Linked DNA regions of Homo sapiens: all the other regions are linked to region 1. The links are contacts of gene promoters, found by promoter capture Hi-C in human tissues and cell types (Jung and others, 2019). All regions are on one chromosome and are shown on one strand. The core of a region is centred on a gene start or on the middle of the fragment in contact, and the rest is flanking DNA. Distances in the headings are between cores, read along the strand shown.

What was found. The method cuts DNA at HindIII sites, captures the fragments that hold promoters and counts their contacts. A contact is called where the count stands out against the background at its distance.
Region 2: a contact is called between a fragment that was not itself captured here and the fragment with the promoter of LEAP2 in region 1, in 2 of the 25 tissues and cell types used here (lymphoblastoid cells and mesenchymal stem cells).
Region 3: a fragment that was not itself captured here is called in contact with the fragment with the promoter of LEAP2 in region 1 in 1 of the 25 tissues and cell types used here (mesenchymal stem cells).

Annotation. Positions count from the first base shown.
Region 1 is chr5:132,872,274-132,875,348 of GRCh38, forward strand. It overlaps LEAP2 (liver enriched antimicrobial peptide 2), which reads left to right and starts at 1,395. Exons shown (of 3, transcript NM_052971.3): 1 at 1,395-1,478; 2 at 1,677-1,816; 3 at 2,137-2,773. The coding sequence starts at 1,422. The coding sequence ends at 2,173. The HindIII fragment of the contact is 2,304 bases long and covers 1-1,400 here.
Region 2 is chr5:132,570,873-132,573,947 of GRCh38, forward strand. The region is part of intron 2 of RAD50 (RAD50 double strand break repair protein); the gene reads left to right. Among named protein-coding and RNA genes, the nearest start is that of RAD50, 15 kb to the left of the region's middle. The HindIII fragment of the contact is 7,396 bases long and covers 1-3,075 here.
Region 3 is chr5:132,588,888-132,591,835 of GRCh38, forward strand. It overlaps RAD50 (RAD50 double strand break repair protein), which reads left to right. Exons shown (of 25, transcript NM_005732.4): 9 at 744-950; 10 at 2,337-2,519. Among named protein-coding and RNA genes, the nearest start is that of RAD50, 33 kb to the left of the region's middle. The HindIII fragment of the contact is 3,171 bases long and covers 102-2,948 here.

The sequences.
Region 1 (3,075 bases), core at 145-2,644:
AGTGCATGCAGTGGCATCCCCCTCAAGGCCTGGCTCCATGATTCTGAGAGGACTAGAATCAGGACAGTCAGATCTGTGGTCACATCCTGCCCAATTCCAGCTCTGAGGTCCATCAAACCATCTGCTTCTCCCTTGGCAAGAAGCTCCCTCTGTCTGACTGGCAGCAGGGTCAGTGGCCATCCTTTTCTACCTTCAGCTGTTGTGCATCTCCTCCACGTTTTCCTGGAGTAAAGGAACAAGCAGGTTCTTATCCAAATACCCAACCTGTGAAGATGAGACGGCCCTTGGGAAGAGGTATTAGCCAAGTTTTCAGTATGATGCCCGGCAGAAAGAATTTGTTGTCTTTGTCTTAAGCTTATTATCCTCCCAGGTCATAGGAAGATCTAAAGTCCAATCAGTCTCCTTACTCAGAATTCACAGCTTTCCCCTCAAACTTAAAATGCCCATGTCATTTCACGAGTACCCATAACTACCCATCGTTTAGATACATGTCCTCCCTTGGTCTAGAAATCTGCAGCAGTTCCTACTTAAACTGATGGATGCTTTGGGCTTTGGAGGTATCTCATCCCTATGCCTGTTGCCCTGAAGCTGCCGGAAGGAAAGGCCCCACTCAACTACTGGGAAGAAAGCCCATAATTCAAGGCTTTTAATACAGTCACTACACAAGCTCTCCCTCTGATTTAGGAGATCTTGTTACCTCCTCATCTACATGTGCTTAAAAACAAAAAGAAACCTATAATTATTCAATTCACCTGTGGTCCAAATAAGTCTCACATCCAGCCATTCCCCTGAGAGGGCAGGAGGCCAGACTTTGAACTTTCCACAGCTGGGTCTTCATTTTACTAGTGAGATAAAGAGGTGCAGATTAGGGTGACAGTCCATCTAAGCAAGTGGACGATCTGGGGAACTGTAGGCCTTGCTGAAGCATCCTCCCACAGAAAGGAGATAAGGGCCTTATCCAATTGGCTGTACACAATAGATCAGTGCTTCTTTCCTAGACAAGGCTGAAAGGGGCCAACATTATTTCTGAAGACTTCATTATTGGAATTCTATGGGAGTGATCTCACTGAGCTATTTTGGAATAGAAATGTGGCTAGTTGCCTGACCTCCCTCAATGGTTTCACGTGGCTTTCAAAGGGAAGGAAGGGCAGTGCTGACTTTTGGTAAAATGGGCGAAAGGGTCCATGCCAGCAACACAATCACTCAAAGTCCAGATGAGGGATCAGTAAATACAACGTGCCTGAAAGGTGGCCCTTGAGCACATTCCTCCGGTAGACATTAACTTATTAAATTGATTCTGATTACAAATATAAACTTTGCCCCCATCTCACCCAGTAACAATGCAAGAGTTGATGTCAGTCTATAAAAGGAAGTAGGAACTGTCCCTGGCTTTCAGGCTCCAACATCCTCCCCCTGTCAAGATGTGGCACCTCAAACTTTGTGCAGTCCTCATGATCTTCCTGTTGCTGTTGGGCCAGGTAAGGAGGGAAGGATACTTATGTGTGTGTGTGGAGTGTGGAGATGATAGTGGTGGTGGAACTTGAAAGCTAGATTCAGTCCTGAGGAATGGTTCCTCTGTTCTGAGTCTACAGCATCTGCGGAATGGAATGATCACTCTTCCAAGGTGTGCAGCAGGGTGTCAACACTTTCATATCTGAATGTCTTTGCCCTTACAGATAGATGGCTCCCCAATACCAGAAGTGAGTTCGGCAAAGAGAAGGCCACGGAGAATGACCCCATTTTGGAGAGGGGTTTCCCTCAGGCCTATTGGAGCCTCCTGCCGGGATGATTCTGAGTGTATCACAAGGCTATGCAGGTACTCCCTGAACCTGGGAGCAGGGTTGGGCCAGAGAGCCCTGGGAAGCTGGGCAGAGGAGTGACAAGGGGACACATGAACCTAAGAATAAAGCTGGGATGGAGGAGTTCTAGACTGAGACTGGGAGCTCCATGGAAAATCCCTTAGGAGTTAGGAGCCAAGAACAGCTCTATGTGGGTACCATGAAAGAGTGGTGCCTTTCCATTCTTCAGTCTTTCCTGAGACTGGACAGATCAAGCAAAGAGGAAGGAAATGCAGCATAGGTGGCCCTGGTCATTCCTAGACCCAGTCTTAAAAAACTACCCTTTCTTTTCCCCTAGAAAAAGACGCTGTTCCTTAAGTGTGGCCCAGGAATGATGTACATACCAGGGAAAGAAAGGACAGCAGTCACCTCCGACAATGCTCCGTTCTATGGAATATTGATTAACTGCATTTTGGCTGGAGACACCCAAGTGAAGCAATCTTGTATTTTTAATATTTAAAGGCAGATGTACGCTTTAAATTGGTCTCCATTTCTTCTTAGAATGTTGATATATGGATAAGCATAACTAAACTTGTCAATTTAGAGTTTATTTTTCTATGGATACTATTAAATGTCTCAAATTGAAATTTTAGCAGTCTGGAATTCAAGCTTTTGAGGGAAAGAAGGATTCATTTTGTATACTAAAGAAAAAAACAGCATTGCCCAATAATGTGTTAACTTCTCAATCTGGAAAGTGTAGTGAGAGCTACATAATCAATAGCTACGTAATCAACTTCAGCAAGTTCCTAAGCTGTGGCCCTGGATCCCTTCACTCCATACTCTTCAGGGAGGTGTCAAAGGTGGTCAAGCTTGGGAGGCTGAGGCAGGAGAATCACTTGAACCTGGGAGGTGGAGGTTGCAGTGAGCCAAGATCATGCCACTGCACCCCAGCCTGGGTGACATAGAGAGACTCTGTCTCAAAAAAAAAAAAAAAAAAAAAAGATGGTCAAGCACTTGCCATCTAATGAAGCACCCAGGTTTGTCTATGGCTGTCTGAAGATAAGGCAGAACAGAGAGAAAAATCTAGTTTAATAAAGCAATGAAAGCCCAAGCCACCAAAAGCACCAAAAGAGATTTAAGATTTCTGTTGGGACAAGGTGAATTTTGACATATGCACAAGGACCCATGGCCAGCAAGTTCAGAATTTCTGTAATCAGAAAATGAGACCTCAGCTGGTGGGAACAGACTTTTAAAGAGTAGTAACGGACCTTAAGACACAAAACAGGAATTGCATGAA
Region 2 (3,075 bases), core at 244-2,743, 300 kb before region 1:
CTCAACTAAGCTTAATCATTTCTAGTTTTTGATTTAAAACGAGATGTTTGACTCTTCTTTCGCTTAAACACTTAGGGGCTGTTGTAGGGTTACTAATTGGCCTAATTTCCATATTATTGTGTCTCAGGCAATCAGGTTCCAAGGAGAGGGAGAGAGACGGGAATGGCAGGTCAGTAAAGCAGTCAGGACACACACGTTAATGGATTAAGTTCACCTCTTATATGTGGATGGTTTGTGGCACACAAACAATTACAGTAGTAACATCAAAGATCACTTATCACAGATCACTATAACAGATACAATAATAATGAAAAAGTTTGAAATATTGTGAGAATTACCAAAATGTGACACAGAGACACAAAGTGAGCACATGCTGTTGGAAAAATGGCACCGATAGACTTGTTAGATGCAGGGTTGCCACAAACCTCTGAAGAGCACAATAAGATGGGGTATGCCTGTATTTGATAGCTGTCATAATAATAATTCATTCAGGTAAGAAACAGTAGATGCTAAAACTAATGGAAGAAAGTTTGATGAAGTATGAGATAGTTGTATGGTCTCTGCATCTCTCCCTCAAATTATTAATTAATTGTAAAGAAAAATTTTTTGGTGAAGCTAGGAGATACACCTTTATCAAGAGATTGAAGTTAGTCTAGGCAACATGGTGAAACCACATCTCTACAAAAACTACAAAAATTGGCGGGGTGTGGTGGCATGCACCTATAGTCCCAGCTACTTGGGGGGCTGAGGTAGGAGGATTGCTTATGACTCAGAGGTCGTGGATGCAGTGAGCTGTGTTCATGCCACTGCACTCCAGCCTGGATGACAAAGTGAGACCCTGTCTCAAAAAAATAAATAAAGGGATTGAAGTTAATACCCTCCGTAATGAGATAAATGGAAATGATGTCCTGTCTGATGAGATGCAGTAAAAGGAACTCATCATCGCTTGTATAATATTCTTGCCAAAGATACATAACCTGATTCTAGTCGTGAGGAAATATTACCCAAATTTTGGGAGGTATTCTGCAAAATAATGGTCTGTACTTTTCAAAATTATCAGTCATGAAAGTCAAGGAAAATCTGAGCAACTATTTCAGGCTGAAAGAAAGTAAAGAGACATAACCACCAAATACAAAGTGTAATTCTGAACTGAATCCTTTTGCTCTAAAGGACGTACTGGGACAAGTGAATTAGGCTGTAGAAAAAGAAAAAAACAATCAGTATAATTTGCCACAGTAATAGAATAAAGAAGAAAAATCATATGAGCATCAATAGATACAGAAAAAGCTTTTCAATTTAATACTCATTCATGATAAAAACTCTCAGCATAACTAATGGATGAATAGTTATTCATTCCTGATTAATTCAGTCCAAAAGCCATTAGGTAGGACTGAGTGAGGAAGGCATCCACAGAAGTACCCTAGGGATGAATAGATGATAGAATTAGTAGATAAGAACCTTAAAATCTTATTATAAATCTTATAACTATGTTCATAGATATAAATAAAAACATAAAAATAAAAACATGAGAAAAATGGAGGACAATAACCAAAAAACCCTAAATAAAGTAAAAGGAATAACAGTGTTTTTATATATAATAGTACAGATGGGTTTAAAACAAAAGGATGGAAAAAATATACCGTGCCAGCTAATGAAAAGAATGCTGAAGTGACCATATTAATATAAGACAGAAGACATCAGAAAAAATAGGTGATTATATGATATTTGAATGTCTGTTCATTGTTGGTCTTTTAGGTCTTATAAGATGATGGTCATTTTCTACTACTTTAAGGGAGCATATTAAATTTTTTTCAACAGACTTTAAACTTTATTTTGTAGATCAGCTTCGGGTTTATAGCAAAATTGAGCAGAAAGTACAGTTTCTGTATATTCCCTGCCTGTACACACACAACCTCCTCTACTATCAGCATCTAACTTTTTGTAGATACTTTGCCTCATTCAAATAATCCAGGGTAATCTTTCTATTTTAAAGTCAAGTGATTGACACCCCAGTTCCATCTGTAATGTTAATTCTCTTTTGCTGTGTAATGTAACATTCACAAATTCAAGGGATTAGAATGTGGACATCTTTGGAGAACCATTATTTTATATGCCACAGCTGAGTTAATGGTAACTTATCACATTTTGGAACAACTGGCAAAACTTGAATGGGATTTGTGGACCATGTGGTAATAATATATCAGTATCAGTTTCCTGATTTTTGTTGTTGAAAATGTCCTTGTTTTGTAGGAAATACTGGTGTTGGGACATCAGATCAGCAACTTACTCTCATGTGGTTTGGGGGGCAGGAAAGCTATGTATACTGTAGTTCTGTGTATTACTCCATTTTCACACTGCTGTTAAAGACATACCCAAGACTGGGCAATTTACAAAAGAAAGAGGTTTAATGGACTTACAGTTCCACGTGGCTGGGGAGGCCTCACAATCATGGTGGAAGGTGAAAGTCATGTCTCACATGGTGGCAAATGAGAGCTTGTGCAGGAAAATTCCCCCTTATAATGACCATCAGATCTCGTGAGACTTACTATCATGAGAACAGCACAGGAAAGACCTGCCCCCGTGATTCAATTATCTCCCACCTGGTTTCTCCCACAACACATGGGGATTCAAGATGAGATTTGAGTGGAGACACAGCCAAACCATATGATTCCACCCCTGGCCCCTCCCAAATCTCATGTCCTCACATTTCAAAACCAATCATGCCTTCCCAACAGTCCCCCAAAGTCTTATTTTAGCATTAATTCAGAAGTCCACAGTCCAGAGTCTTACCCAAGATAAGGCAAGTCCCTTCTGCCTATGCGCCTGTAAACTCAAAAGCAAGTTAGTTACTTCTTAGATACAATGGGGATACAGGCATTGGGCAAATACAGCCATTCCAAATGGGAGAAATTGGCCAAAACAAAGGGGCTACAGGCCCCGTGCAAGTCCGAAATTCAGTGGGGCAGGTGTATCTTAAAGCTCCAGAATGATCTCCTTTGACTCCATGTCTCACATCCAGGTCACTCTGATGCAAGAGGTGGGCTTCCATGGCCTTGGGCAGCTCCACTTCTGGCT
Region 3 (2,948 bases), core at 437-2,936, 280 kb before region 1:
TTTTGAAATACAGTATTTGTTATTTTGTTTGCATCATATTCTCTACTTGAATTGTTTTAATTTTTGGTTGGACTCCATTTTGGCATATTTTTCTATTAGTGTTAGGATAAAATCTGCTACAAGGCAGAAAAACCTTTATTGAAGCAAATGTTCTTAAGTGTATAAAGATAAAAATATGAAGAAAATGTAAACCTACATTTTTTATTTGGTTTTAAGTAAAAATTTTTAAAAACTAATTGCAGAGAAAACATTTGCTCACAGTTAATGATTATCTCTGGGTAATGGTTTTGATTGTTTTTAAAATACAGTCTTGAACCACATGTTTTGGTCAGTGATAGACCACATATTTGACATTGGTCCCATAAAATTATAATACTGTATTTTACTGTATGTTTTCTGTGTTTAGATATGTTTAGATACATAAATACTTATCATCATGTTACAGTTGCCAAAGTATTCAGTACAGTAATATGCTGTATAGGTTTGTAGCCCATAAACAATAGGCTATACCATATAGTCTATGTGTGTATTAAACTATACCATGTAGGCTTATGTAAATACATTCTGATGTTCACACAATGATAAAATTGCCTAATGATGCATTTCTTGGAATATATCCCTGCTGAGCAACACACGACTGTACTTTTTTGTATTTTCTTCAGTGTACATATATTCCTTTTGCAATTAAAAAACTTAAATTGTTTAGTAAATTATTAATGCTCATTCTTTACATATGCATTTAGAATGACTTTGCAGAAAAAGAGACTCTGAAACAAAAACAGATAGATGAGATAAGAGATAAGAAAACTGGACTGGGAAGAATAATTGAGTTAAAATCAGAAATCCTAAGTAAGAAGCAGAATGAGCTGAAAAATGTGAAGTATGAATTACAGCAGTTGGAAGGATCTTCAGACAGGATTCTTGAACTGGACCAGGAGCTCATAAAAGCTGTAAGATATTGTTTGAATAATCTAATAATTTTAAGATATAATACTTTTAGAAGTATTTTGTCTATTTTTGATCCTAAGATTATAGCATTTTAATAAAAACATCAACTTTGTCTTATTCTCATGTAAAATGAATTCATCTGAATATCTTGATCTTCTGACTCTTTGGTTCTACAACCCGATAGCCTGAAAATTAGAATCACATAGGGAGCTTTTTAAAGATACTGTACTCAGACCTTAAAGCTTCAGACCTTCCAAATCAAAATCTCTGAGAATGGGGCATAGAAATGTACATTCAAAACACAACAAAACTGGCTAATTCTTATGAGCACCTTGATTAAGAACACTTACCAGGCCGGGTGCGGTGTCTCACACCTGTAATCCCAGCACTTTGGGAAGCCAAGGCAGGCAGATAACGTGAGGTCAGGAGTTCAAGACCTGTCCAGCCAACATGGTGAAACCCCGTCTCTACTAAAAATACAAAAATTAGCTGGGCGTGGTGGCGTGTGCCTGTAATCCCAGCTACTTGGGAGGCCAGGGCAGGAGAATCGCTTGAACCTGGGAGGCAGAGGTTGCAGTGAGCCAAGATTGCGCCACTGCTCTCCAGCCTGGGTGACAGAGTGGGACTCCATCTCAAAAAAAAGAAAAAGAACACTTGCCAAAGTTTTAAAAAAGCAAGTATTTTTCCTCTAGGTCACACACGTTGTAATTCTAGATGATTTTTGCTGTATTATTACTTTTTCTGTGTTAAAAACTTTCTTAGCCAATCTTTTCAGGTATTTCCATATTTTCTTTCTTGCTTCTAGTCTGTCCTCCTTCTTCACATCTCCATTACCAAAGTAAGCATTCTAAAGCATGGCAAACTTCTTAAAGCCCATCTTGATAATTTATGTAAACATTTATTTTTGCTCCATAACTCACCATTGTAGCATACATTTTTGTCAGTTTAGCACTTCATCAGTGTTGTCTTGTTGGGGTGGGGAGATACTTGGTCAGGGACCACATCACACTATTTTTATAGTTTCTACATACCAGGCAATATAGTGAATTACATGGGGACATAATAAATATTTAATTGTTGACTGAGGACTCACTAATCTGTGTACTTAGACACATGTCTCCTAATTTTACAGTAATTCTCACATTTCTTTCCTGTTTGACCCTTCTAGGTTTATTTACTAATTCTCTACCATTATAACATAGTAAGGTCACTTTAATAAGATATACCTTAGAGCATATATAGTGCCTTATGTTTTTTTCTCTTGTTGGATGCAAACAGTAATATTTGGAACATTCTGAGGAGTAGTTAATTTCTAATACACTTTGTCATTATTTTAATTCTTGCACAAAATATATAACACCTTTGCATTTGTATGAATTATTGACTAGGAACGTGAGTTAAGCAAGGCTGAGAAAAACAGCAATGTAGAAACCTTAAAAATGGAAGTAATAAGTCTCCAAAATGAAAAAGCAGACTTAGACAGGACCCTGCGTAAACTTGACCAGGAGATGGAGCAGTTAAACCATCATACAACAACACGTACCCAAATGGAGATGCTGACCAAAGACAAAGTATGATTTTTCTTTTTGTTCTAATTATACTGTCTGGTACTTAAAATAGCCTACCTTGCACTCATAAGTCATAGACTATAAGGTATTAAGTTGGTATTGACTATATTTTAGAGGCTAAGTGAGCTTAGTACTCTATATAATAGACTTTCAAGCTTAAAAGTTATTGTTTAATTACAAAAAGTTAATACAGAAATGTATATATATGTATATACACACATGCACATTACTGTTAACTTTTAACATACACAAATTTTAAAATTTTATATTGTTCGACTTGGTACTCCACTCTTAAGGCTTAGAAAGACCATCCCCACTTGAAGACTTTAAGAACTTTAAGAAATTTTATATTTTATTTTCATATTTTTATAGTTTTAAGCTTAGAACTTTAGTCAGTCTAGAATTTATTTTTGTTCTTGATATAATGTGGAG